7 separate regions of the Homo sapiens genome follow, and regions 1, 2, 3, 4, 5 and 7 are each linked to region 6. Evidence: promoter capture Hi-C in 16 types of primary human blood cells and fetal thymus (Javierre and others, 2016). All regions are on one chromosome and are shown on one strand. Each heading gives the region's core, a stretch centred on a gene start or on the middle of the fragment in contact. The rest is flanking DNA. Distances are from core to core; before and after follow the strand shown.

Evidence for each region. Contacts are between HindIII fragments. The CHiCAGO score rates a contact against its expected background, and 5 or more counts as called.
Region 1: a fragment that was not itself captured here is called in contact with the fragment with the promoter of GTF2E2 in region 6 in 1 of 17 cell types (non-activated CD4 T cells); the score reaches 5.4 in non-activated CD4 T cells.
Region 2: a fragment that was not itself captured here is called in contact with the fragment with the promoter of GTF2E2 in region 6 in 1 of 17 cell types (monocytes); the score reaches 6.4 in monocytes.
Region 3: a contact is called between a fragment that was not itself captured here and the fragment with the promoter of GTF2E2 in region 6, in 1 of 17 cell types (neutrophils). The highest score is 8.2, in neutrophils.
Region 4: a fragment that was not itself captured here is called in contact with the fragment with the promoter of GTF2E2 in region 6 in 1 of 17 cell types (activated CD4 T cells); the score reaches 5.4 in activated CD4 T cells.
Region 5: a contact is called between a fragment that was not itself captured here and the fragment with the promoter of GTF2E2 in region 6, in 1 of 17 cell types (fetal thymus). The highest score is 5.5, in fetal thymus.
Region 7: a fragment that was not itself captured here is called in contact with the fragment with the promoter of GTF2E2 in region 6 in 1 of 17 cell types (activated CD4 T cells); the score reaches 5.4 in activated CD4 T cells.

The regions. Positions count from the first base shown.
Region 1 is chr8:33,555,355-33,559,042 of GRCh38, reverse strand. RNF122 (ring finger protein 122) reads left to right here. Exons shown (of 6, transcript NM_024787.3): 2 at 272-428. Among named protein-coding and RNA genes, the nearest start is that of RNF122, 9.9 kb to the left of the region's middle. The HindIII fragment of the contact is 4,905 bases long and covers 1-3,688 here.
Region 2 is chr8:33,487,996-33,492,002 of GRCh38, reverse strand. It overlaps MAK16 (MAK16 homolog), which reads right to left. Exons shown (of 10, transcript NM_032509.4): 2 at 3,576-3,625; 3 at 3,374-3,483; 4 at 3,205-3,269; 5 at 2,864-3,015; 6 at 1,664-1,718. Among named protein-coding and RNA genes, the nearest start is that of MAK16, 4.8 kb to the right of the region's middle. The HindIII fragment of the contact is 5,323 bases long and covers 1-4,007 here.
Region 3 is chr8:28,614,424-28,618,417 of GRCh38, reverse strand. It overlaps a transcript of EXTL3 not described here. Among named protein-coding and RNA genes, the nearest start is that of EXTL3-AS1, 85 kb to the left of the region's middle. The HindIII fragment of the contact is 3,428 bases long and covers 370-3,797 here.
Region 4 is chr8:27,785,244-27,788,960 of GRCh38, reverse strand. ESCO2 (establishment of sister chromatid cohesion N-acetyltransferase 2) reads right to left here. Exons shown (of 11, transcript NM_001017420.3): 6 at 959-1,076; 7 at 1-114. Among named protein-coding and RNA genes, the nearest start is that of ESCO2, 13 kb to the right of the region's middle. The HindIII fragment of the contact is 622 bases long and covers 940-1,561 here.
Region 5 is chr8:28,090,148-28,093,862 of GRCh38, reverse strand. ELP3 (elongator acetyltransferase complex subunit 3) reads right to left here and starts at 724. Exons shown (of 15, transcript NM_018091.6): 1 at 630-724. The coding sequence starts at 648. RefSeq lists enhancers at 1,049-1,098, 590-1,143. The HindIII fragment of the contact is 717 bases long and covers 1,646-2,362 here.
Region 6 is chr8:30,655,576-30,659,533 of GRCh38, reverse strand. It overlaps GTF2E2 (general transcription factor IIE subunit 2), which reads left to right and starts at 1,298. Exons shown (of 8, transcript NM_002095.6): 1 at 1,298-1,561. RefSeq lists enhancers at 755-1,426, 2,098-2,769 and silencers at 1,204-1,613, 1,624-1,713. The HindIII fragment of the contact is 11,766 bases long and covers 1-2,422 here.
Region 7 is chr8:27,762,477-27,766,630 of GRCh38, reverse strand. CCDC25 (coiled-coil domain containing 25) reads left to right here. Exons shown (of 9, transcript NM_018246.3): 2 at 1,380-1,427. Among named protein-coding and RNA genes, the nearest start is that of CCDC25, 8.1 kb to the left of the region's middle. The HindIII fragment of the contact is 2,330 bases long and covers 251-2,580 here.

The DNA.
Region 1 (3,688 bases), core at 776-3,275, 2.9 Mb before region 6:
CATGAGCCACCACACCCAGCTTGCCTGAATTTATTGTCCCTTAGATGGGGATATTGTTTTAAGTATTTTGGATAGTATTCAATTTTGTAGATCAGATTTACTCAAGATTACATAGCTAGTAAATGTTAGAACTAGGATATAAAACTGGAGCCACTGAATCTGAGGCTTAGGTGCCCAGAGCCTGCCAGTTATTTCTATCCTGCTGACACAGTGCTATCAGCCCAGCAGTAAATTTCCAACCCTAATGATTTTTTTTTCTCTCCCTTTGCAGGGTGTTTCTGTGGCCTGGGACTGGTTAGCACCAACAAGTCCTGCTCGATGCCACCCATCAGTTTCCAGGACCTTCCGCTCAACATCTATATGGTCATCTTCGGCACAGGCATCTTTGTCTTCATGCTCAGCCTTATCTTCTGCTGCTATTTTATCAGGTGCGTGGATCCCTGGCTGACCGGGGTGGGAGTCCAGCAGGAGGGAGGAGACCAGGGTTGTGGGGTAAGCTGAGCGAGGGTCCCACAGCAGAGTCACCAGTCTTATACTGGAGCCACCACTTTGAGGACACGGCTGAGCCTGCCCTTCTCTAGGCCCCTGAGGATCTGGTGTTTCTATTTACATTAGCCTATCAAGTTGTTCCTGAGCATATAAGGTCACCACGGGTTGGGCTGCATCCCACCTCCTCGCCAATTATTCTAAGGTTGCCTAGAATTACTGTGTGACTGAGTAATAAAGTTAGTGGTCCCTTCCTTGTCTGTCTGTCTCTATTCCTACTCATGCCCTTTGGGTGGTCGGGAACAGGTGGGCATCAGTTATGCCAGCGTCATGTTCCTTTGCCCTCCTGGGACCTGTTGTCAGCCCTCCAGATACTAATATTAGGAAGCAAGCCGGTGTCTAGAGAGCTACTTGGTTTTTGTTTTGTTTTGTTTTTTTGAGATGCTCAGGCTGGAGTGCAATCTCAGCTTACTGCAACTTCCACCTCCTGGGTTCAAGCAATTCTCCTGCCTCAGTCTCCCAAGTAGCTGGGATTATAGGCGCACGCCACCACGCCTGGCTAGTTTTTGTATTTTTAGTAGAGATGGGGTTTCACCATGTTGACCAGGATGGTCTCGAACTCCTGAGCTCAAGTGATCCACCCACCTCAGCTTCCCAAAATGCTAGGATTGCAGGCATGAGTCACCACACCCGGGCGGAGCTACTTGTTTATTCCGCCTTATAAGCTCTTATTTTTGAGAGTGGAAAAAACCAAAACAAACCTAAAAAACTGTCATTTATTCTTGATTGCTTAGGGATCCAAGAGAAGACCTGGAGTTTGGCAGGGCTCGCCACACTCCAGGAACGCTTTCTCTTATCTCTTGTTGAAGGACATGGGGACTGGTGGCTGTTTTCTTTTTACTTTTTCTTTCTTTCTTTTTTTTTTTTTTGAGACGGTGTCTCACTTCATCACCCAGGCTGGAGTGCAGTGGCACAGCCTTGGCTCACTGCAACCCCTGCCTCCTAGGTTAAAGCGATTGTCCTGCCTCAGCCTCCCTAATAGCTGGAATTATGGGTGCATGCCTAGCTAATTTTTATTTTTGTATTTTTAGTAGAGACGGGGTTTTGCCACATTGGCCAGGCAGGTCTCGAACTCCTGACCTCAAGTCATCCACCCCCCTCGGCCTCCCAAAGTGCTGGGATTACAGGCATGAGCCCTCGTGCTCGGCCTCTGGTGGCTGTTTTCTATAAAAAATTTTGAGCATGACTGGTATTTAGAATGGGAATCAAAGTAGTAGTGTTTCTGACTGGGGTTTACTGTTGGCATTGACAATTCCTCATTGTATGGGACTGTTCTGTACATTGGAGAATATTGAACATCCCTGGCCAATAGGGCATACTAGTAGTCTTTAGGGCCATTGTGGCCATTAGCTGTCTCCCCCGCCACCCACACATTACCAAATGCTTGGGTAGACATCAGCTGTGGTCTGGGCTGGTGACTGATCAAATAATTTAAGAAGATTAAATTAAGATTAAGGAAAAGGCTTTGCTGGCTTTATTCCTAAGATGCCCTTCTGGGTTTGAGTGCTTTGCTAGAAGGCAGCTACAAGAGAGGCAGGTACTAGTCCATCTTCTCCAAGGCTGGAAGAGCTCCCTCTAAGAAGGGGAAGTGCCCTCAGGCACATCTCCCCACCACTCCCAGGTGCTACCTTGGACCTGTTCTTTCTCAGAACTTTTCACACAGGTCCCTGAAACTAGAATTTTCCACATAAAAATCTATGCAGAGGAGATACTGGTTTATCTTCCCTCTTGTACAGTTGGGTCTGAAGATTGCATCTAACCATTAAGCGGAGATGAGGGTAGATTTCTGGTATCTCTCCTCTCTTCCTGTCTCCTCCCCTTTCCTGAAGCCTGTTTTTTTCCTTGAATTCTTCCTGACCACCAACCTGCCCACTCCCGCACACCCGTGTTAAGCAATTCACACTTAAATCCTGGAGACAGGGATGAAGATACACCAAATACCAAAGATTTCTTTATGATGAGGCTGAGAGGGGTTTGTAAAACCAACTCTCCTTGGTCCCTTTCCTCCCTGCTCCCCCTGCCCACCACACACACACAGAAGCATACACATGCCAAGCGGCAAAGGGCTTCAAGAGACCATCTAGGCCGGGCACCATGGCCCTTGCCTGTAATTGTAGCACTTTGGGAGGTCAAGGCAGGAGAGTCGCTTGAGTCCAAGAGTTTGAAACCAGCCTTGGGAACAAAACTCCATCTCTACAAAAATGACTTAGAGAAAACTACTCTAGGCTAGGAAGTGGGTGACCAGAGTTCATTTCGTAAATCAACCAATAATAGGTGTGACCTTAGGTTTTCTTTTTTTTTTTTTTTTTTTTTTTTTGAGACAGGGTCTTGCTCTGTTGCCCAGGCTGGAGTGCAGTTGTAAGATCTCGGCCCACTGCAACCTCCACCTCCCGGGCCCAAGCCATCCTCCCAACTCAGTCTCCCGAGTACAGGTGTGTGCCACCATGCCCAACTAATTTTTTAATTTTTTGTGGATAATTTTTATATTTTTTGTAGCGATGAGGTTTCACCATGTCACCCAAGGTGGTCTCAAACTCCTGAGTTCAAGCCATCTGCCTGCCTCAGCCTCCCAAAGTGCTGGGATTACAGGCATGAGCCACCGTGCCCGGCCTTTAGCCACTCTTTACCAAGGGCTTTCCATAGGCCAGGCATTGTGGTCAGCATTTGAAAAAACATTTAGCTCGCTTAATCCTTAGTATAGGTATTGACCCACTTTATAAATGAGGAATTTCATGCTCAGACTGTTCAGGATCTGCCCAAGGTGATACATAGAGGAAGATACAGAGGTGGACAAGTCTGGTAGCAATGAGCTAGGGTCTTGCCGAGTCCTTCCAAGTGTTTGCCTTTTGAGTCATATTCCTTGAAGTAGAGGAGCCGCTATAGGCTCCACAACCACCCCCTTGCAGGTCAGGATCTGTTCTTGCAGAAGGACAGGTTTGAGAGCTGTGAATTGCTGATTTCTTTTTCTTTGGCTGTGGTCAAAGAACAGAACAGGGCTGGGCGTGGTGGCTCACGCCTGTAATCCCAGCACTTTGGGAGGCTGAGGCAGGTGGATCACCTGAGGTCAGGAGTTCGAGACTGGCCTGACCAATATGGTGAAACCCTGTCTCTACTAAAAATACAAAAATTAGCCGGGTGCTGT
Region 2 (4,007 bases), core at 1,015-3,514, 2.8 Mb before region 6:
ACTATATAAGGAGCTCAAACAACTCTATAGGAAAAAATTCTAATTATTGGATTAAAAAGTGAATAAAAGGGCCAGACATGGTGGCTCACACCTGTAATCCCAGCACTTTGGGAGGCTGAAGTGGTTGGATTGCTTGAGCCCAGGAGTTCAAGACCAGCATGGGCAACATAGTGAAGCCTCGTCTCTACAAAATATATAAAAATTAGCCAGGCATGGTGGCATGCACCTGTAGTCCCAGCTACTTGGGAGGCTGAGGCATGAGAATCACTTGAATCCAGGAAGCAGAGGTTGCAGTGAGCCAAGATCGCACCACTGCACTCCAGCCTGGACAATAGAGTGAGACCTTGTCTCAAAAAAAAAAAAAAAAAAAAAAAAGCAGGGGGCAGGGATTGGGGAGGCAAAAGATTTGAGTAGACATTTTTCAAAAGAAGACATACAAATGGCAAACAGGCATATGAAAAGGTGTTCAACATCATTGATCATCAGAGAAATGCAAATCAAAACAATGAAATATCTCACCCCAGTTAAAATGGCTTTTATCTTTTAAAAGACAGGCAATAACAAATGCTAGAGAGGATGTGGAGAAAGGGAACCCTTGTGCACTGGTGGTGGGAATGTAAATTAGTACAACCACTATGGAGAACAGTTTGGAGCTTCCTCAAAAAACTAAAACTAGAGCTACCATACCATCTAGCAGTCCCACTTCTGGGTACAGACCCAAAAGGAAATTAGTGTATCAAAGGGATACCCACACTCCATGTGTGTTACAGCTCTGTTCACGACAGCCAAAATTTGGAAGCAACCTAAGTGTCCATCAATAGATGAATGGATAAAGAAAATATGGTACTTATACACAATAGAGTACTATCCAGCCATTAAAAAGAATGAGATTCTGTCATTTGTAACAACATGGATGGAACCGGAGGTCATTATGTTAAGTGAAAGAAGCCAGGCACAGAAAGGCAAACACTGCACATTTTCACTTATTTGTGGGATCAAAAAATCAAAACAATTGAACTCATGGATATACAGAGTAGAAGGATGGTTACCAGAGGCTGGGAAGGGTAATGGGGGTGGGGATGATTAATGGGTACCCCCGCTAAAAAAAATAGGAAGAATGAAATAAGACCTAGTATTTGCTAGCAGCACAACAGCGTGACTATAGTCAATTATTTAATTGTACATTTTAAAATAACTGTAAGGATAATTGAACTGTTTGTAACACAAAGGATAAATGCTTGAGGGGACGGATACCCAATTTTCCATGATGTTATTACTCACTGCATGCCTGTATTGTATTTCACTGCAGAAATTCCATTTGATTAGAATGCTCAAAATCTACTAAAGGTTTTATGTAGTATGTAAAATATGCAACATCAAAATTCTGAAGTCTGAAATATTTGACCACAAGAAATTCAGAAAAAGGAGTTGTGGATTCTTTCTGTTCTCCATTACATATATCCCCAAAGCACACATACTTTAACCTGTGCTGAAAATCATAATCTTAAAATATGAAAAATTAAATGTCTTAGGCAACTAATAGTTATCTATTAGTGAACCATTATCCAAGGCCTCAACAGTTTACATAATGATGGTGACTGAATCTATAAGAGACCCCCAGAAAGAAAATGTAGAAGGTATGAATATCTCAACAATAAGTTACCTCTCTTCTTTTCTCCCTACGCTCCACCTTCTTACTCAAAGGAACAAGTTTCCTCCTAAGGGAAAGAAAATATATCAGAAAATCCACTGTCATGTGCTGTGTTCCTTTTTAAGGATGAGAAGAAAAAAGGATTGGAATTGGTGACTAAAATGGAAGTCTACTCATGTGCAGGGCAGGATGGCTGAGCTTCAGGCATTCACGGAGGCTAGCGATTCAAACAAGCCTTGGAGCCCAAGGTTGGTGCTGTAGGGCTCAGCTCAATACAGCAAGATACACTAAACGCTTCTAGAAATTTAATACTATAAAAAGTCATATATTTTTACATGTATTTTAATCCGGCCATTTTTGTTCAGGCATTCTGGGATTCTCAGGGCATTCACCATGCTAAAATTAAGACTTCAGTGAACTAAGAAAAAAGAATTTTCTGTCGAAGTCTGACATCATCTTTAGCATTCTATGTAGATCACAGTCAAAAAGCATTAGGGCCTAACAGTCCTAGAGAAGGTATTCTGTTAATTCTGGGGATTTCATATCACTTTTAAAAATTAGTTTTCAGTGAATCCAGAGTAAAGTTCTTACATTCCTGTATAGTCACATGTCTTAGATCATTTTCAAATCTCTAAAGTTAAGATTCCCTCGGGGGTCATAGAGGAAATTTTCTGAAGGCTGGGCATGGTGGCTCATGCCTGTAATCCCAGCACTTTGGGAGGCTAAGGCGGATCGCTTGAGGTCAGGAATTCTAGACCAGCCTGGCCAACATGGTGAAACCCCATCTCTACTAAAAATACAAAAAAAATTAACCAGGCATGGTGGTCCATGCCTGTAATCCTAGCTGCTCAGGAGGCTGAGGTGGGAGGATTGCTTCAACCGGGGAGATGGAGGTTGCAGTGAGCTGAGGTCGCGCCACTGCAAATTCCAGCCTGGGCGACAGAGTGAGACTCCGTCTTAACAAAAAAGAAAATAAAATTTTCTGAAAGATTTTCAGACAAGGAGGGTGATAATCAAGTTGTATTCTACTGTTTTAAAAGTCCTGCCATATCAAAGGGCACACCTTTAGTCAAAGCTAAAGTTTCTCTTTAGTACATCATAACAGACTCCACAAAGTTGAATAGAAAGCCCCGAAGTTTCACAATTTCTCAACTTCAAAACAAGCTCCATAAAAAGAGAGATTTAAAAATAATGAATGATCCAAATACTTACTGTCGCTTTAGTGTAAGTTTTCTAATTCGAATTAGGTATTGGGTGATCTTGGTGAATCTCTGCTTACATTTGTGTCGAATGAAACGGGGCCAGTAAATCAGATTTTCATCTATTTGCTCCAGTGCTTTCTCATAGTTTTTACTAAGCCGGACCTACCAAACAGAAACAGGAAGTTTGAAGGGCAAGTGTAAATGATTCATTAGGTTTTCACTGTCAGTGACACCCATGGCCTAATGAGGATGGCCTCAAAAGTTAATGGTCATGGAATTGGGCATCATGGTCAAGCATGTGGCTTTGATGCTCTTGATCAGCGGTCACTGTAGTTTTGTTGTAAGGCTTACCCGTTCCCAGAGACGCCGAGGAAAAGCCGCTCGTTCTATAACCTTCATATACAAGTAGCACTGTCCTGAAGATAAAGTAAAATAGCTTTAGTGTTATTTACAGAAACTAAAGAACATCCCTGTAAAAGCTGTGGAGCAGTTCTTCTAGAAGTTAAAACTGGGGAGTTACCTTTCTCTTCTTTAATAGTGGCATACTGACTATTTGCCAGGGGACAGGATGACCGATTACACAGTCCAGTCAGGCTATATTCATTTCGGCAGAAGCTCTGAGTCTTGGTTCTAGAATGGGAGAAAAGAAACAAAGATTATAAAATGGGTTGCCAAAGAGGCAACTGAAGGAATCTTTGACCAAGTTGTAAATTGAGACTCACCTTATTTTGAAGGAACAAAATTGCTTGTTTCCTAGTGTATCCCAGATAACCTGCAAGACAAAGTAAAAGCCCATTTCAAATCCTCTGCCCCAAGAGATACTATATTAATTCAAGAAGGCAATGCCCAAGGACAGGAATGAGAGGAAGAAATGTTTTGTAAAATAGCCTGACTTGTTTACTTTTTAAAATACAAACAGCAAGGCCGGGCACGGTGGCTCACGCCTGTAATCCCAGCACTTTGGGAGGCTGAGTTGGGCGGATCACCTGAGGTGAGGAGTTTGAGACCAGCCTGATTAACATGGAGAAACCCTGTTTATATTAAAAATACAAAATTAGCTGGGCATGGTGGCGCATGCCTGTAATCCTAGCTACTCGGGAGGCTGGGGCAGGAGAATCGCTTGAACCCAGGAGAGGGAGGTTGCGGTGAGCCGA
Region 3 (3,994 bases), core at 834-3,333, 2.0 Mb after region 6:
TCCCCCTCTGAATTTTGTCTCTTTTCCATAGTTCCCTCAGTCTATTCCCATGCCAGGAATCTTGAGTCACATCTATTGTTTTACTATTATTATTATTATATACCTTTTTTTTAAGTAGAGATGGGGTTTCACCATATTGGTCAGGCTGGTCTTGAACTCCTGACTTCAGAGGACCCACCCGCCTCTGCCTCCCAAAGTACCTGGGATTACAGGTGTGAGCCACCATGCCCGGCTTCACTGTCTTTTTTATTATGGTAAAATATTTAAGATAAGATAAAGTTTGTCATTTTAATCATTTTTAAGTATAGAGCTCAATAGCATTAACTATATTCATAATGTTAGGCAACCATCAACACTATTTCCAAAGCTTGTCATCACCCATAAGATAAACTCCGTATCTATTAAAGCAATAATTTCCACTCCCCTCTCCCCTTAGACCCCAGTGAGCTCAAATCTGCTTTCTGTCTCTATGAATTTCCATGTTCTAGATATTTCATATAAATGGAATCGTGCAATATTTGCCCATTTGTGTCTGGCTTCTTTCAGTATAGTATTTTCAAAGTTCATCCGTGTTGTAGCATGTATCAGAATTTCATTTCTTGTTTTTTTTATTGTTGTTGATTTTGGTTTTGGTTTTGAGGACAGTGTCTTGCTCTGTCACCCAGTCTGGAGCGCAGTGGCACTATCTCACTGCAGTCTCCATTTTCCTGGGCTTAAGTGATTCTCCCACCTGAGCCTCCCAAGTAGCTGGGACTACAGGCATGTGCCATCACACCTGGCTGATTTTTGTGTTTTTTGTAGAGACAGGGTTTTGCCATGTTGCCCAGGCTGGTGTTGAAGCCCTGGGCTCCACCAGCAATCCACCCACCTTGGCCTCTCAAAGTACTGGGATTACAGGTGTGAGCCACCATGCCTGGCCTGATCTTCATTTCTTTTTATGGCTGAATAGTACATATATATGGTACTATTGTACAGTGTATATTGTACATATACATTCCTTTTTGTTTATTCATTTGATGAACACTTGGATTGTTCCCACATTTTGGCTATCGTGAATAATGTTGCTATGAACATTAGCTTACACTTCACATATGTTTTCTCCTCCACATAAGATCTTATTTCCACTGTAGACCCTAGTCACGGGCCATCCCCATGAAAAATGAGGAAGGAAGCTGCCCCATCTTCTTTCTGTGTCCTTGCCTTCTCGGAACGGGGTGTTGGTAGCAACAGGTATGACTCATTCATGGTGAAATTTTTGGCATGAGTAGGACAGGGCAATCTTGCAGACACTCCTCAAATCATCCCACAGACACACCACATACTTGGCTTGGCTAAAAAGCAAGTCCTGCCAGGACAAATCCTCTCAAGACTAAGACACTCTTAACAGGAAGTGGGATTCCTGGAGTTGGGTATTAGTAGGCATACTGTGTTTCCTTGATGCAGCCTTTGTGAAAAGGGTTTGAGATTGCAAAAGACGTGACCGTAAGAAGGAAGCAAAGAGGAACATTGAGAATAAGCCTGGAAGTCCGTTTTGTCTTCCCTTCAGTGTCCACAGCTGGTTCCGAGGCAATGCGTTCCAAGGCAGATGAAGAGGAGTCTCCAGGTGCTGTGTCACCAGCTGTTTCCTGGGAACCCTGATGCACTCCTGGTTCACTCTCCACACCCAAATCTATACTCAGCGCACACCTGTTAACTGAATTCACTTAGAGAGGAAAACTCTTAAGCATTCAGGCGGTATCAGCCCTGGGCAAGAATCTTGAAGAGCACACATTTTGGCTTTTTTTTTTTTTTGAGACGGAGTCTCGCTCTGTCGCCCAGGCTGGAGTGCAGTGGCATGATCTCGGCTCACTGCAAGCTCCACCTCCCAGGTTCACGCCATTCTCCTGCCTCAGCCTCCCAAGTAGCTGGGACTGCAGGCGCCCGCCACCACGCCCTGCTAATTTTTTATACTTTTTTAGTAGAGGCGGGGTTTCACCCTGTTAGCCAGGATGGTCTCGATCTCCTGACCTCATGATCCACCCGCCTCAGCCTCCCAAAGTGCTGGGATTACAGGCGTGAGCCACTGTGCCTGGAACGTTTTGGCTTTTATGTCTGACTGCCTCTCTTTTTGTTTGTGGGGCTTCCATCTCCCTCCTTCAGTTACTGACTCTTAATTCCTCACCCCCTCCCCCATTTCCCTCCACCGAAAAGTATTCTTTACCTGTTTATTGAAAGTCTCTTATATACTAATTCAAACTAAAGTATAAATGACTGAAAGTAGCTTACTGTACTGCCCTTTGCAAGAATACTTCATTACATTTTTCACAATAATAATTTCACCAGTGATATCTTTTTTCTTTTTTTAAAAGATAGTCAGCATCTCCCTATATTGCCCAAGTTGGTCTCAAACTCCTGGCCTCAAGTGACCCGCCTGCCACAGCCTCCCAAACTGCCGAGATTACAGGTGTGAGCCACTGTGCCTGGCCTACTGATAGATTTAATGTAATAAAATCCAAGAGCTGGAGAAAGACATACTATGCTAACACCAATCAAAAGAAAGCTGCAGGCCGGACATGGTGGCTAAAGCCTGTAATCCCAGCACTTTGGGAGGCCCAGGCAAGCAGATCACTTGAGGTTAGGAGTTTGAGACCAGCCTGGCCAACATGGTAAAACCTCGTCTCTATTAAAAAAAAAAATACAAAAGTTAGCTTGGCATGGTGGTGCATGCCTGTAATCCCAACTACTTGGGAGGCTGAGGCAGAAGAATTTCTTGAACCCAGGAGGTGGAGGTTGCAGGGAGCTGAGATCAAGCCACTGCACTCCAGCCTGGGTGACAGAGCAAGGCTCCATCTCAAAAAAAGAAAAAAGAAAACTGGAGTAGCTATATTAATTTCAAAGTAGACTTTTGAGAAAGGAAAATTATCAGAGATACAGCAGAACATTACATAACGACAAACGGGTCAATTCTCCAGGAAGACATCAAAATACTCAATATGTATGTGCCTAACAACAGCATCAAAATAGATGAGGCAAAAACTGATAGACCTGCAGAGAAGAAATAGATGAATTCACTATTATTATTGGAGACTTCAACACTCCTCTGTCAGAAGTAGACAGATTCAGCAGGCAGAAAATCAGTAAAGATACAGCTGAATTCAACAGCACCATCAATCAGCTGAATATAATTGACATCTACAGAATACTTTATCCAGCAACAGCAAATTACAAATTCTTCTCAAGCACACATGGAGCACTGACAAAGGTAGACCACATTCTGAATAAAATACATCTTAAGAAACGTAAAAGAAAGGAACTCATTCAAAATATGCTCTCAGACCACAATGGAATTTAACTAGAAATCAATAGCAGAAAAATAGCTGGAAAATTCTCAAATATTTGGAGATTAAACAACATAATTTGGAGGGCGGGGGTGGGAGGAGGGAGAGGATCAGGAAGAACAGCTAATGGATGCTGGGCTTTATACCTGGTGGGAGGAGGGAGAGGATCAGGAAGAACAGCTAATGGATGCTGGGATTATCTTTGCAGCAAACCACCATGGCACACATTTACCTATGTAACAAACATGCATATCCTGCACATGTACCCCACACTTAAAAGTTGGAAATGAAAAACATAATTCTAAATAATACATGGAAGAAGTCTCAAGAAAAATTGTTAAACATTTTGAACTAAATGAAAATGAAAATATCATTTATCAAAATTTGTAGGTGCAGTGAAAGCAATGCAGAGAGAAAAATTTATAGCATTGAATGGAGATATGAGAAGAGAAGAAATATCCAAAACCAGCAACCTAAGCTTCCACCTCAGGAAAATTTAAAAACAGCAAAATAAATACAAAGTAAACAGAAGAACTGGGGTCCTCACACCTGTAATCCCAGCACTTTGGGAGGCCGAGGCGGGTGGATCGCTTGAGCCCAAGAGTTCGAGATCAGCCTGAGCAACATGGTAAAATCCCATCTATTCAAAATATACAAAAATTAGCTGGGCATGGTGG
Region 4 (3,717 bases), core at 1-2,500, 2.9 Mb after region 6:
CAGAAACCTGTGGTGATGCTGTACATGCTGCATTTCATCTTCAGGGTTGGAAGCAGTATATATCATACCACAAGACTTGCACACAGTAGCCCCAAAATGTTTCTGACCAGCGTCCTATAATTGGGGGGTAAAAAAAGAAACCCATTTAAATATAGCACAAATAGCTCTAAATTAAGTTCCTATAACCATTCATTCAAATTTCACCTAATTTTTTTTTTCCTGCTGACACAAGTGAAAAACTAAATGAAAATCTGGTTACCATATCCTCCTTCCCTCCCCCAAGACAAAATGAAATGAGATCAGGCCAGGCACAGTGGCTCACGCCTGTAATCTCGGCACTTTGGGAGGCTGAGGTGGGTGGATCACTTGAGCCAAGGAGTTAGAGACCAGTCTGGGCGACATGGTGAGACTCCATCTCTTTGGGGGGGGAAAAAAAAGAGACAAGAGACCTAAAAATGCAATAAATTGATGAAAGGGAATTATTTGAATGGACAGTGTAAAAACCAAAGATTTTTTTATTTTTACAAGATTATTTACTAGACTCATGGTTCTAAGAAAGAATAAGATTAAATTGTGGAAATTACAGCTAAAATGAACAACGGAACTTTTTAATGAAACCCTTAAAGACCTGAAAAAGCCTTATTTCAAACAGGGAGGGCAAAAATTTTAGGACTTCTATATTAATTATACAATATTTTTCCTTAAGCAGCTAAGAATATTAAATTATTTTAAACAATATTAAAATTATTTGACCCAAGAGTTGACAAAAAATAGAGTGCAGGAAAAGCACAGATAAATTCAAGAATATTCAATGTCACCACCTACAACTCCCATTCTGTCACATAAAACATTGCTTAATGACATTGAAAATACCAAGTTCTGAACTGTCTAATACAGGGGTTGGCAAGCTTTTCTGCAAAGGGCTAGATAGGAGAAGCTTTGTTTGGAATTTACTCACGATGATGAGCTGGTCTTTTGTTTTTTTACTTGTATCTCTGGTATTAGTATTTTTCTGGATATTGGTCTGTTTCATGAAGTTGACAGATCCCACAGAAAACTGTTCTTCACCTAAAGATCTTGACACAGAAAGTTGATATATATAAATTTACAATTTTGGAGGAATTACAAGGGAAAGAAAGCAGCCATTTATCAGAGTACCTTGCAATTTTTAGTGCTTTCTATCTGACATTAACTTGATGAAGTAATAAGGACAGGAACAAAGAGAAACCTGAGGCCTACTCAGAGAGGGTCAGTAATTTACTCAAGGTAAAGTAACTAGTAAATGGCAGTGTTAACACTCAAATCCTGGTCCTCTGACTCCAAGTCCTAGGGACTTTCTTCCACAATATCAGATGCACATAGATGCACACTTTGGAAATTGACTTTGCCCTTTAAAAAAAGATTTTTTTGCTTTATCAAATCTTAGGACAATATTTACCCCATACAGCTATGAAGAAATTCCTGGGGTACTGGAGAAAATAAGTATAATACTGAACTTCACAGATCCACAGGAAATCAGAGTCACCATCATATTATGACCCAGCACCTGGGCAATGAAGCTTCTAAATTTGCTTTTCCTCATACCAAAAGCAGCATCTCACTACTGTGAAATTCTTAAGGAAAAAAAAAAAACAAAAACATATTTAGGCTGGATAGCTGTAGTTGAGACAACCTTTACCTATTATGAAAGAATGTTGAGATTCACTTATAGAGGTTGCAAACTGGAGCCCCTCAGGCCAAATCTAGCTAGCAGATATGTTTTGGTTGGCCCATATGGTATTTAAAAACTTTGGATTAGCTACCAATATTTTAAAATCTAGAGATTTCACTTAAAAATGTGTATTTCCAATATTAAGAGACATTGTAAGATCACTAAACCTCTACTCCATCAAAGAATCTATGAGTTCGAACTTGGAATAGCACATGCCCTTTTAAGTGGGCAATTCTTCAGCTGGCCCTAGTCTCCACCCAGCCTGCTGGTTCTGTAGGTACTGAGTTTGTAACCCTTGCCTTGTAATGAAAGGACCTTGGTTTTCCAGGGACCAAAGGAGTAGAAATCCCTAAAGAGTAGAAGTAAATAAGAAAGAAAAAAAAAAAAAACCCTAGTACCAAAAGTAAGAAGTTCAAACAACAGGAAAAAAAAAAACCTGACAAAGTAGAAAAAAAAAAAAAAAAAGGTGGAGCATTAGCTCCACTGCATTAAGCTAAGTCAAGCTATCTTCTTACCATTTGTCTGAAAAGTAGTTTTCAAACTGACTTGACAAATCTATGCTAAGAAATACATTTCACATGACTAGTACAGACATAAAACCAAAGTTTCACTAAATATACTTGCTGTGTGAGAGATACACTATTCCACTAAAAATAAATGCTATTGTTGGAGGCCAAAAGAATGAGGGTTGTGACTAACTCAGTATACCACTGGAGGCTATATGAGCAAACAGCAAACTGTTATCATGAATGCAGGTTGTTGGCAAACTGACAAACTGCATCTGCCACCCAGAAGGAATGCTGAGGGCAGTCATGCCCAGGCACAGTGTTTCTTGCGATTATCTATAGGCACATTTGAAGCCTGTTAGCAATCACGTGAACCTGTGATAAATCAAGCAGCTGACCTTTACCTCCTCCTCCCTGCTCTTTCTACCCAATAAATATAAAAGGCTGTAAAAGCTCAGGGCCCTTGCTCACTAGCAGGAGCTCCCGACCCCTTCTTTAAAAAGATCCTTTTGTCTTTGTCTTCATTTCTGCGTTCGTCCACCTTCGTTCAGTCCCATAGTAACTGTCACAAGATATGACACCCTAAACTGGTCTGATGAACTACTAATGGGCTACTTCCTACAGTATGAAAAAACACTTGTTCAAGTCACTGACCCTTTTCACCTTATGCAGCCTTTGCTAGGCTCTCCCTGACTCTGCATGCGTGACAGCCATCTCTTTGCTTCCATTTTAGCAACTCTAACACTATATTTGTTTAAATGTCTACCCTCCTCTAACCATAACCTCCTTGATAGCAAGACCACATTAATTATCTTCACATCTCTAGAACTCAGTATAGTTCAATAGCATGTGATACTCTCTAAATGTTCATTGAATTTTAAAAACCAAAAAACAAATGTGCGACTAAGCACTTTGAGAATCTGTAATCATCTGAAGTAATAGATTAAATCTCAAATTGCTGATAACTGACGTTTTGGAGTCTACAAAAAGAGCAATATCATATTATTTAACAAATAGTATCCCACTGTCTTTTTTTTTTTTTTTGAGATGGAATCTTGCTCTGTTGCCCAGGCTGGAGTGCAGTGGCACCATCTTGGCTCACTGCAACCTCTGCCTCTTGGGTTCAAGCTAGTCTCCTGTCTCAGCTTCCTGAGTAGCTGGGATTACAGGCATGCCCCATCATGCCCAACTAATTTCTGTATTTTTTGGAAAGACGGTTTCCCCATGTTGGCCAGGCTAGTCTCAAACTCCAGACCTCAGGTGATCCACCCACCTCGGCCTCCCAAAGTGCTGGGATTACAGGCATGAGCCACTGCGCCTGGCCTGTCTCTTTATGCTAGACTAAATTAGTATACACTTTTATCAGTTAATTGTGGTAGGCTTCTGCTATGGTTTGAACACGTCCCCCAAAGTTCATGTGTGAAAACTTAATCTCTAGTGCAACAGTTTTGGGAGGTGGGGCCTAATAAGAGGTGTTTAGCTCATGATGGCTCCACCTTC
Region 5 (3,715 bases), core at 755-3,254, 2.6 Mb after region 6:
AATGGTAGCTATTATTCTGACAACAATTACCATGATTAGACCAGCTGGTCAAATGAAATAGGAACAGAACCTGTGAGATACAGAAATAGGAACAGAACCTGTGAGAGAATATTTCAAATTTGAATCCGTCCTGTTGAAAAACCAAAGGTGGAATTGTTCATTGCTAACTCATGATGTAATAAAAATGGGAATAATTGCATGCACAACTCTTACACTGAATCCAAGGATAATTAAGGTTTTTTTAATATCTTAAAATAAGGCTTTAAAAGAAACTCTCTAACACGTCAAATGTGTCGTGAAACAAATCTTAACAAATGAAAAGTCCTACAACCCGTTAAATCGACGTTAACTCCTCGGAGGGCATATATTGGAATAATGGTTTCCCTGCCATTCAAACAAGACACCACGTGACTGCCAAAGAGGAAGAGAGGAAGGGTAGGGTGCTTCAAAAAGCAAAACAGGAAAAACGAGAAGGCTCGGGGACCAGAATGGACACACTGACCCTAGGTGGCGGGGCGACTGGACTGGGTAGCGGATTCTCGCGGTAAAAGTTCGGTTCAGCATTTGATTGCCTGGGCGTTCGCCCCTTTCGGACCACCCCTTTCCCCCATCTCCTTCCCCTTTCGCACCTTTCCGCTTCTGCCTCATTTCTGCGCCGCCGTAGCAGAGCCACCAGAGATAAAAATGCAGCCACAAACTCAGACCACGGGGAAAGCTGACAGCCACAAAACAATCCCGCCTGTCGTAAAATGTCGGTCAATGTATCGTAAAGCTCTTCCCGGAAGCCGACGTGCACAAAGCCACGCCCCGCCCCGTGTTGCAACTAACAGGGTAGCAGGCGGCCCGTGAGGCCCCTAGGCTGCGATCCTGCCCCGGGTCTCAGGGATGGAGGATGGGAACGTCTGAACGGAGTGGCATCTTGGGGTTAGAAAGCTCGACCTGGGCAGTACAGCTATGGGACAGAGTTCCTGGATAGAGGCTGCGCCAGGAAGCCTAAGTGAAAGGGTGGAAGTGGATGGTCTCTCATGGGGGGGAGTGGGAGCCCAGGGTCGTCACATCCGGGGAGGGTGGGTGGGAACGCGAATGGGCGAGACCACGGAGGAGGAACCCTCCCATGTTGTGGAAACTAACTGAGGGCCTGGAAGAGACCAGGCGGGAATCGAGTAAGAATCCGAGGTGCAGGCTTTGGGACCAGGTGGTCACCTTGGTCTTAGATGAATGGCACATATGATCGGTAACCATCGTGAAAGCTGTGGATGTCTCTTGTGGAAGGAAAATAACATCTCGGGACCCTAAACTCTGCCAAAGAAAAAAGTTAAGCTTAGGGCCGGGCGCAGTGGCTCACACATGTAATACTAGCACTATGCCCATCTCAGGAGGCCAAGGCCAGCAGATCATCTGAGGTCTGGCATTCAAGACCACCCTGGTCAACATGGTGAAACCCTGTCTCTACTAAAAATACAAAAATTAGCCAGGCGTGGTGGTGCACGCCTGTAATCCCAGCTACTTGGGAGGCTAAGGCAGGAGAATCTCTTGAACCCGGAAGTGGAGGTTGCAGTGAGTGGAGATCATTCTCTGTTGTCCAGCCTAGACGACAGAGCGAGACCCTGTCTCAACAACAACAACAACAACAAAAAGTTAAGCTTGTGAACTGAGTCACGCAAAAACTGCCTTCCTTCTGTTCCTAAACAGCTGCAAAGACAGAAGCCCACATATCTCCCTAGGTGGCCTCCCAGAGGAGTTGCTCACAGGGAAATTCCTTGTGAGTGGCAGAGTCTTTACCTTACAACACTTCTGTTGAATTCCACCCTGACCATGCAAATTTACAGTAGGTAGGGGACAAGGACAAGACTAGAAATCACCCTTCAGTCCACCCCAAGAAAAATGCATATTTGACTCCTTCCTCTATGTTTACTTTGTCTTCTGTAAAAGGCAGATTTACTGAGTGTGAAATGAATGCATAGTTGTTCCTCTTTCCCCTTCTGTCTGCTCTTTCCCTTTAAATATTGAAGTCCTCAAAACCCTCTTTGGAAAAACCACAGGCCACAGATTCCATGATAACTTATGTCTCTTTTTCCTGGGTGTGTCCTCAACCTTGGCAGAATAAACCTCCAGACTGAGACCTGTCTCAGACACTGTTTGGTTTACGTTCTCCAGAAAAATACACAGGCACAAAATTTTGCAAAATTTGGAGGCAGGACTTGGGATGTTTTCCTGAAACCCATCTATGATCTCCTTTGTCCATGGGCTGGAGATTAAGAACCTCTCCCATTAATAAAGACAGGAATATGTACCCTACTAGAATTGAGGCAACAACGAGGCTTTGACCCCACTATGACACTGAAACTGGCCTTGCTAAGCTTTGTAACTTCCCAGCCTGCCAAGTTCAGTGGTATTTGTCTGACCTCATTGTCATCCTATACCAATGAACATAAGTTCTCCTCTGTAAACCGAAAATAATTCTCAGCCCAGGGCATTCCAAAGTTAAACTGAAAAACTAGCTCAGGCCATGATGGGAAGTGGGGTTGGACATGCCTCCTTATTCCCTCCTCCTTTTTAGAATTCAGGAGCTGCTAACCAGTGTTAACATCAACACAGAGACCTTAAGGCTGATAGAGCACAGAACCGACTCTTAAAGTCTGATAAGAAACATTTACGGCCGGGCGCGGTGGCTCATGCCTGTAATCCCAGCACTTTGGGAGGCCGAGGTGGGCGGATCACAAGGTCAGGAGATCAAGACCATCCTGGCTAACATGATGAAACCCCGTCTCCACTAAAAATACAAAAAATTAGCCGGGCGTGGTGGTGGGCCCCTGTAGTCCCAGCTACTTGGGAGGCTGAGGCAGGAGAATGGCGTGAACCCGGGAGGCAGAGCTTGCAGTGAGCCGAGATTGCACCACTGCACTCCAGCCTGGGCGACACAGTGAGACTCCGGCTCAAAAAAAAAAAAAAAAAAAAGGAAACATTTACAATCTATTCTCTCTGAAGCCTGCTACCTGGAGGCTTCCTCTGCATGATAAAACCTTAGTCTCCACAACTCTGTGTCTTAACCCAGACATTCCTTTCTGTTCATTTCAGGTCTATAGATAATAACTCTTTCAACCAATTGCCAGTCAGAGAAAACTGAATCTGCCTGTGACCTGAAAGTGTTGCCCCCTGACCCCACATCAATGCTTTGAGTTGTCCCACCTTTCTGGTTGTTCTCTGTGGGATATGCGTGAGGGGAGAAGAAAAGACACATACACAATACCTTTAAGGGTAAACGACCTTTATCCCATGTAAATGGCAATGCAGATATAATAAGCAAATTGCAATGGGAAGGGTAGAAGGGAAAGTATATGTGTATACACACACACACACACACACACACACACACACACCCACCCATCAGACTATGGAGGATTTATCACAAGACCAAGAAGCAACAGCCTGGGTTCCAGACTTGGACACTACACTCACCAGACTATGGAGGATTCACCACCAGACCGGGAAGCAACATCCTGGGCTCCAGAGTTGGGCACTACACTCACCAGACTATGGAGGATTCACCACCAGACCAGGAAGCAACAGCCTGGGCTCCAGAGTTGGCCACTCCTCCTTGCACAGATGAGGATAGGTCTCCTGAAGCTTCGGCTGGGCCTGGGACCCTAGCTCTTTTTGTAACAAGTTGTTTGGCATGAGGCCCAGTCACAAGGGCCCTTCACAACCAGGCTCA
Region 6 (3,958 bases), core at 49-2,548:
ACCAATTGATGTTTGATTTCATCCTTTTGTAAATCTTCTGGGCCCTAATCAATTGTTATTCAAACAAAGTTACATTTCCTGTGGGTGTCAGATGATCAAGTAGGCTTATTACAAAATTCTCTAGAATGAAACTAATAAAAGTCACAAAATATTATCTTTTGACTTTTTTCCAAGTTTTGAATAAAATTTTAGGTATTTTCTCACTTAATTTTCACCACAGTCCAATGCAAGTAACTCATTGTAGTAGTACAATGATTATCCCCATTTCCCCGATGAGAAAACTGAGCCACAGTTTCAGTAACTTGAAGAGTAACCAGTAATTCAACGACAGCCACAGAATGGCTGAGCACTGGCTGTACTGCCGCTTTAGGTTATAAGAGTGAGGGAAGGCCTGCCACGCTGCAGGTTTCGGGCAATGAAATTATTTTTTCCACTGCTTTATTTCCACCCATTTATCTGGCTTCTAAATCCAAAATCCTTTTCTAAGACAGTTCACAGGGGTGGAGGGAAGAGGCTGGGCTGTGCTCCACATCAGGCTGCCTTTGCTAGCTGTGTTGTCTTGAGCAAGTCATTTATTAATTAGCTTCCTGGCCCTCTGTTCTTCGCTTGTAAAAGAGCTGGAACCGCGTTCTCGGTGTGCAGGTGCTGGTGTGTGGCGCTGGGGTAAACTCACAAAATAACCGTTGAGGCCGGGCGCGGTGGCTCACGCCTGTAATCCCAGCACTTTGGGAAGACGAGGCGGGCAAATCGCTTGAATTCAGGAGTTCGAGACCAGCCTGGGCAACATTGTGAGACCCTATTAATACAAACAACAACAACAATAATAACCAAAAATAGTCCGTCGTGGTGGCACTCGCCTGTGATCCCAGCTACTCCGGAGGCTGAGGTGGGAGAATGGCTTGAGCCCAGGAGCGGAGGTTGCAGTGAGCCGAGATCGCGCCACTGCCCTCCAGCCTGGGTGACCGAGTGAGATCACGTCTCTAATAAGAAAAAGACAAAAAACACAAAGTAACCATTGAAAGATAGCGTCGTCGGCTGGGTTCACCACATCCCAGCGCACGCCGGAGCAGGCTGTAGCAGTTTTAATAAAGTGTCTATAAAGAAAGCTGCCTTCCATCTTCAGTGGCGCCGCCTCCCACTTCAGTCCCCTTCTCGGCCCCACCCCAGCCCTTCCCTCGTTGTCATGGAGGCCCCAGGACGCCAGAGCGGGATAGTTCCGCTCCCGCGGCACCAGAGGCGGGGCACGCAATGACGCATGCGCTCGCTTGGCTGCCCTGGCGCCGCGGTGGCTGCCGGGACTGAGCTCCTAGCACCCGATCGGGAAGTGGCGGGCGGAGTCCCGGGTCCAGTCGCCGCCTCAGCTACCGCCGCTGCCGCCGCCGCCGCCGCCACCGCCAGTGGTGAGACCCCGACCTGGCGGGTCAGCGCTGGGCGTGCGTGCGGGCAGGCGGGGGCGCTGACGAGAAGCAGGAAGAGGGTGCAGTGCCGGCGTGGGCGGCCGGCCGAGGCGGAGGCGCAGGAAGGGGGCGGCGAGTCGTGCGAGGCTGCCCTTCTCACTCAGGTAGGGGCTGCGGCCGCCGGGTGTGGGGCGCAGAGCCCCGGCTTGCTGTTCCCTGGGACGCAGGCGCGCCGCCGCCTCCCGGGAGGCTGAGCGTGACCTCCACCTCACGGGAAGCTGGGACCGCCGTTCTCGAAGCGAAACACCCAGCACGCGAACCGTTCCCCGGAGCATTGTCTTTAGGCCAGAGGTTCATTGAGCAAACTTTTGGGTTGGAAAGAGGGAAAATTCGCGGTCTGCCGCCTGACTGTGCCTCTTCCAAGCCTCCAAGTTCACGGGCGCGGTAGCCAAGCGAACCGTGTGTGGAGTTTGAGCAGCCGCGGGGTCCAGCCAGCTCAAGACTGTGATTTAAAATGATGCTCATACGCGGACTGCTTTCTAGGCTACCTTTTGGAGATTTGGTTTGTGATGATCCCTAAACTTTAACGATAGTAGTTGATTTCTGCAGTCTAAACAACGCTGCGGCCCCCTTTTCGCCCACCTCCCCACTTCCGTCATTTAAGGGCGAAGCAGCCTGCTTTTCATAGCCGGGTCCTGAGGTGCCAGGGACACTAACGAGGCTGGGTAAAAGTGAAAGAGAGGGGAAGTAGTAAGGTTGAAAGAGGTCGAATGGTGGCAAGAATCGTGGGCTTGGAGGCAGATTTCAGTTTAATTTTTGGGTTTTCCGTGTCTGCCCACGGAGGAACCAGCCAACTCCTTGAGTTGTGGTTTTGTTTAATTGTAAAATGGACATGGTGATGTAGCCTGTTTACTCCATAGGGGGGTCCAGAGATCTAAAACTTAGTACACATATTGGGTAGTCTTTGAAAAAGGAGGAAAAGTTAGGCGGAGCACGTGATGGTGAAAGACAGACATTGCGAAGCTTTCTGCTCTAGATGCCTTTGAACGTTCCCGAACCTCACAGGTGGCCTTTGTTTTAAAGGCCTTTACCAGCGTTCCAGGTCTGGTGTAAGGAGCACTTGAGTTAGGAGTCAGGAGGTTTGGTTCCTGGCCCTGGCTCTTCCATCTGTGCGACCTTAACCAGACAGCTTCACTTCAGATTTCACGTATTAAAATAGGAATAACACTAATACCTGTTTGCTCCTAGAGTTGCGAGGGTCAAATACTGTAAGCATTTAGTTTGTTGTAAACTGTACGGCTTTATTTACTTTTTTTTTTTTTTTTTTCTGAGACGGAGTCTCGCACTGTCGCCCGGGCTGGAGTGCAGTGGCGCGATCTTGGCTTACTGCAAGCTCCACGTCCCTGGTTCAAGCGATTCTCCTGCCTCAGCCTCCCAAGTAGTTGGGATTACAGGCACCCGCAACGACACCCTGCACATTTTTTAAATTTTTAATGGAGACGGAGTTTCACCATGTTGGCCAGACTCGTCTAGAACTCCTGACCTCGTGATCCGCCCTCCTCGGCCTCCCAAAGTGCTGGGATTACAGGCGTGAGCCGCTGCGCCCGGCCTATTTAAATCTTTTAGAGTAATTTTTTTAAAGTCCAGATTGAGGTCCTGCCTTTGCAACGTGAAATAAGACACAAATGTTTCCTGTTCTAGAAATTTACTTTTTGCTCCCACCTTCTCACTTGACAATTCTCCTTTCTTCTTCTTGGCCCCACGCTTTCCCTCCTCCCAAGGCTGTCTCCTACTTTCCTCAGCCCGGTAAATCATTCCCTTCTTTCAGATCCAACTCAAAATAGTAATACTGAAATAACACGTTTTTATGACTTTACTGTTTAAAAAATAACATACACATTTTCTCATTCTTACAATTGGGCTGGATGTGGACAGCTTTCATAGCGTCCTCATTTCACTTATGAAATTGAATGTAGAGGCCTTGTGGGTTGCCTAGCCAGGTGGCTTTAGGAATTGAAACTGAGGCCGGGTGCGGTGACTCACGCCTGTAATCTAAGCACTTTGGGAGGCTGAGGTGGGCGGATCACTTGAGGTCAGGAGTTCAAGATCAGCTTGGCCAACATGGTGAATGAACCCCGTCTCTACTAAAAATACAGACATTGGCGGGGCGTGGTGCTGCGCGCCTGTAGTCCCAGCTACTCGGGAGGCTGAGCCAGGAGAATCGCTTGAGCCCAGGAGGCGGAGGTTGCATTGAGCCGAGATTGCACCACTGCACTCTGCCAGCCTGGGCGGCAGAGCGAGACTCTGTCTCAAAAAAAAAGAAAAAAAAATTGAAACTGAGAGAAGGCAGGTTTTTGATTCACCGTCCAGTGATTGTTCACGCCTTAATTGAAATTCAGTCTGATTATTTCTTATCAATGCTTATATTTAAAATTTTTAGCTCAATGCTTCCATTTTCTCAAATCTAAGCAGCATGTAGACAAGGATTTATCTTCCGTAACCTTTCAAAGCTTAGAGCACAGTGCCTCACAAACAAGATATTTAATAAAGGCTTGTGAAAC
Region 7 (4,154 bases), core at 166-2,665, 2.9 Mb after region 6:
GAGAAAATCTGAAATGCTTTTTAGTTTTATTCCCACCCTTTTGGCATTTGTTACACGCTACACTAAGGCCTGATCAAGGTACTACAATGCTCAATAATAGACAAGCATTTCTATAAACTTGGCGATGCACACATTCTTTCAAGGTACTTTTCTCAACTACTTCTGGACTTCAGTTATTATAAATGTTAAACAAAGGAATTAGTTTTCTCTCCCCCGAGAAAGGCAACTAGGATTGATCATTTAAGAAGCTTCTCATTACTGAAAGTACAGGGCATCTCTCTGATATAAGGCTTTTTAATTTAGGAGAGCGTATTGCCCTTTGTCCTTCAGGGCTCCAGGTACATGTGTGTGTTCTGTGCTGTGGAGTGATAGCCAGCAGGCTGTTCAGCCCAACCCTGCACTTATCAGTACTTTGCTTCAGTGTGTATTTATTTTTCAGTACTTCTCCATCACAGGCTTTGTAGCCTGAGGGCCCAGTGTCTATGAATTCAGGAGTTTAGTCCAATTGGATCAAACAAGTTTTGGTAAACTAGCTTTGAAACCTGGCACTCAGTTATCCTTTCAGTAGGAATCCAAGGTAGGGACGTCTGCAATAAAACACCACCTTGGTAAAGCAAATATCATTTCTAGGATAAACCATACCCAGAAGATTCCATTTGAGTTAGGATAGTTGTTTCTAACCCTGACCTTATATTAGAATCACTTGGAAGGCTTTTAGAAAACACAGATGCTCACTCTTGCCCACCAGAGATTTGGATTGAGTTGATCTGAGGTGGAGCTGGGGCATAATTAGATGATTCTAATGTAGATCAGGGGTCAGAGTCACTGGTTTAGAAGTTGGAGAGTCATGGTCTCCCTGAATGTGATAGAGAGCCTGTTAGAATATGCAGCACACCTGGAATATGGGTAATATTGGCTAAAAACAATTATGCACAATAAAACTTTGGTAAACATGGGAACTTAGTTGTGGTGTTTAGTTTTCTTTTCTTTTCTTTTTTTTTTAACTCTTAAAGAAGGCAAAAGTATAGGACTGGACTGGCGATACCATTGAACTGTAACCCTGAGAAAGTAGGAAAGTAGCTATTAGTAAGGATGGTAAACTTTCTCTTTTGGGGCCAGATAGTAAATATTTTAGGCTTTGTGAGTCACCTACAATCTCCGTGGCTTATTCTTCTTTGTTTTGCTTTTTTTCCAACCCTTTAAAAACGTAAAAACCATTCTTAGCTCAAGGGCTGTCCAAAAACAGGTGGTAGGCTGGATTTGGATCATGGGCCATGGTTTGCCAGCCCCTAGTCTAAGAATTGTCACTTGTTTTTCACATGAAACAATTTTGTTGGTGATGAAGTTACTAATTGTTTTTTATTTTTGTTTTATCTTAGTTAATTCATCTGCCTACACTATTTACATGGGAAAAGATAAATATGAAAGTAAGTTTTCAAAAGCATTTGATTTTGAAATTTTCAGCAGGTAAGTGTTATCTCTCACTCACCACCTTCCATGCCCCCCACCCAGTTTGTTGGTTCTGAGTTTTCACCTACTTTGATAAACTAGCTTTTGAGAAACAGAACAAGCTCACATAGGGAGACAGCAGCACCTCCTAAGCTACATAAGAAAAATGCTTTAACTATCAATGTTACTTGTGATGATTTATGGGTTAGTAGGAGAAATGTAAAACTCAAGTGTTAATATGCTGCAGACTGCTTCACCATTAAATCACACCCAAAGTTAATGTCACAACTTTATTATCATGAAAAAGTACTAAGGTCTATTTTTTAAAAAGTATAGACAAAATGAAGTAACATGAATAGTAAATGCTGTCGAAGTAGACAGATCAGAGATAGTAAATGTGATTGAAAGCTGAGAAGGCTTTGTGGAGGAGTGGGTTAGGATGGACTAGATTGTGGAATCCTTTGAATGTCTATTGTAGGAATATATAGATACAAATCTAGATACATAATTTATGTCACAGATATAAATTTAGATGATATTTTTAGAGCCCTCTGGAGTGGCATTTTGCTGTCATTAAAAACCTTTGTAGAAAAAAACGTAAGAGGCCAGGCATGGTGGTTCACGCCTGTAATCCCAACACTTTGACAGGCTGAGGCGAGAGGATCACTTGAGCCCAGGAGTTCGAGACCTGCCTGAGCAACATAGGGAGACCCTGTCTCTACAAAAAACAACAATAAAAGAAAATATTAGCTGGGCATAGTGACACACACCTGTTGTCCTTGCTACTCTGGAGGCTGAGGCAGGAAGATCGCTTGAGCCTGGGAGGTAGGCTGCAGTGAGCTGTGATCATGCCACTGCATTCCAGCTTAAGAGACAGCGAGAATCTGTTGTCTGAAGTAAGTGAATGTATGTATGTATGGAACACTTTTTCCCTGGGAACTCTTAGAGTCATTTGGAGGTATCAACTTTTCCTAGGTTGCCTTGTAAGAACGGACATTACTTCTCTAAATCACCCCATTGTCTGGCATTCCTAGCCCATTACATTTATTTCTAATAGTGTTTATGACTTCAGACCAAGAACTCGATAGAAACATCAATTTAAGTGGAATGATTTACTTTCACTGAAAAGCTTTCAGGTCTGTTCTTTTTATCAGCCAGCAGGTGTCATCAGGGAGCCAAACTTTGCCTGACTGAGGGAAAGAGATTTTTTAAATTTCTCTTTCCTTTTTTTGCTTACCTTTTGGCTATTTGCTCAGTCCTACTTAAAGCATTAGAAAGCCTTTCAGAAAACTCATAGTGTCTACGACTGTTATGAGTGCCTTTACCCAAGATGTGTCTTCCTTTTGCTTTTCCTTTTCTGGATGGTAAATACCCCATTCAAATTATATAGACCATACTTTCTTGGGTACATTTTAAATCATCACATATGAATCATTCACAATTTATTTATTTATTTATTTATTTGAGACAGTTTCCCACTCTGTCACCCAGGCTGGAGTGCAGTGGCGTGATTTCAGCTCACTGCAACCTTCACCTCCTGGATTCAAGCAATTCTCCCACCTCAGCCTCCCGAGTGGCTGGGGCTACAGGCACGTGCTACCATGCCTGGCTAATTTCTGTAATTTTAGTGGAGATGGGGTTTCACCATGTTGGCCAAGCTGGTCTCAAACTCCTGACCTCAGGTGATCTGCTCGCCTCAGCCTCCCAAAGTGCTGGGATTACAGGCGTAAGCCACTGTGCCCAGTATTGTTTATGATTTTTAAATTGGCATTTAATACTTAAATAATTCTGTATTAAACAGAATTATTACTAATTATTAATATGGCTGTAGAAATATTTATTGATATAACCTTTATGTAGTGATATATATTAGCCTTAAAAAATGTGCATTCACTTTGAGCGAATACTTTAGCTTTTAGAAATATACCTTAAGGAAATAATCAGAAATATGGACAACTTTACTTAAAAAATTTATTGAACCATTTATAATTAGAAACAAACCAAGGGCCAACAATAGAAAAGTTTATTCATATAAGAGAATTAGGTAGTCATTGTTCCCAAAGAACTTTATTTTTATTTGTATCTAACAAATACATAGTTTAAAAAGTCAAGTAGTAATAGAATGCTTAGAATTAAAAAAAGAATCCTTCTTAATACCCATGTTCCACCCCACCTGCTACCTCCCCAGACAATTACTTTTCACTCTGTTAGCTATTTCTTCTGGTGTTTTATTTCCATGTGTGATAGAATTTAAGGTGATTTTTATTTTCTTTTTATACTTCTAATGTTTGTTTTGTTTTAAATTTTCTGTAATTTTATAATCAAGTTAATTTTTCTTAAAGAAGTAAAATATTTCTTTAAAGTTTCAGCCAGTTCTTTTTAATGTTTAAGTATTATTAGGTGAATTGATTATCTGAAACATCTGAACTATTGGTTGCTTTGTTTTGTCAGTGTTAGTTTTATTATCTTCATATAGAAATAATATCTGAGCTTTAGATTAGAAGTATTATATAAATTTATAAAAATTATAAAGTTCATATTGTTCAATTATGAAAATTATTATTTTTTCTGTATTTTCAAGCATCAAGGCCTCCGAATTACTCTTCTTCATTGAGGGAGAGAGAAATTTGTGGGAGGAGCTGACATTTCTCCCATTCTTATAAACCCTGGCATATCTTCATTTGACAGTTTTTGTTTCTTTCGTT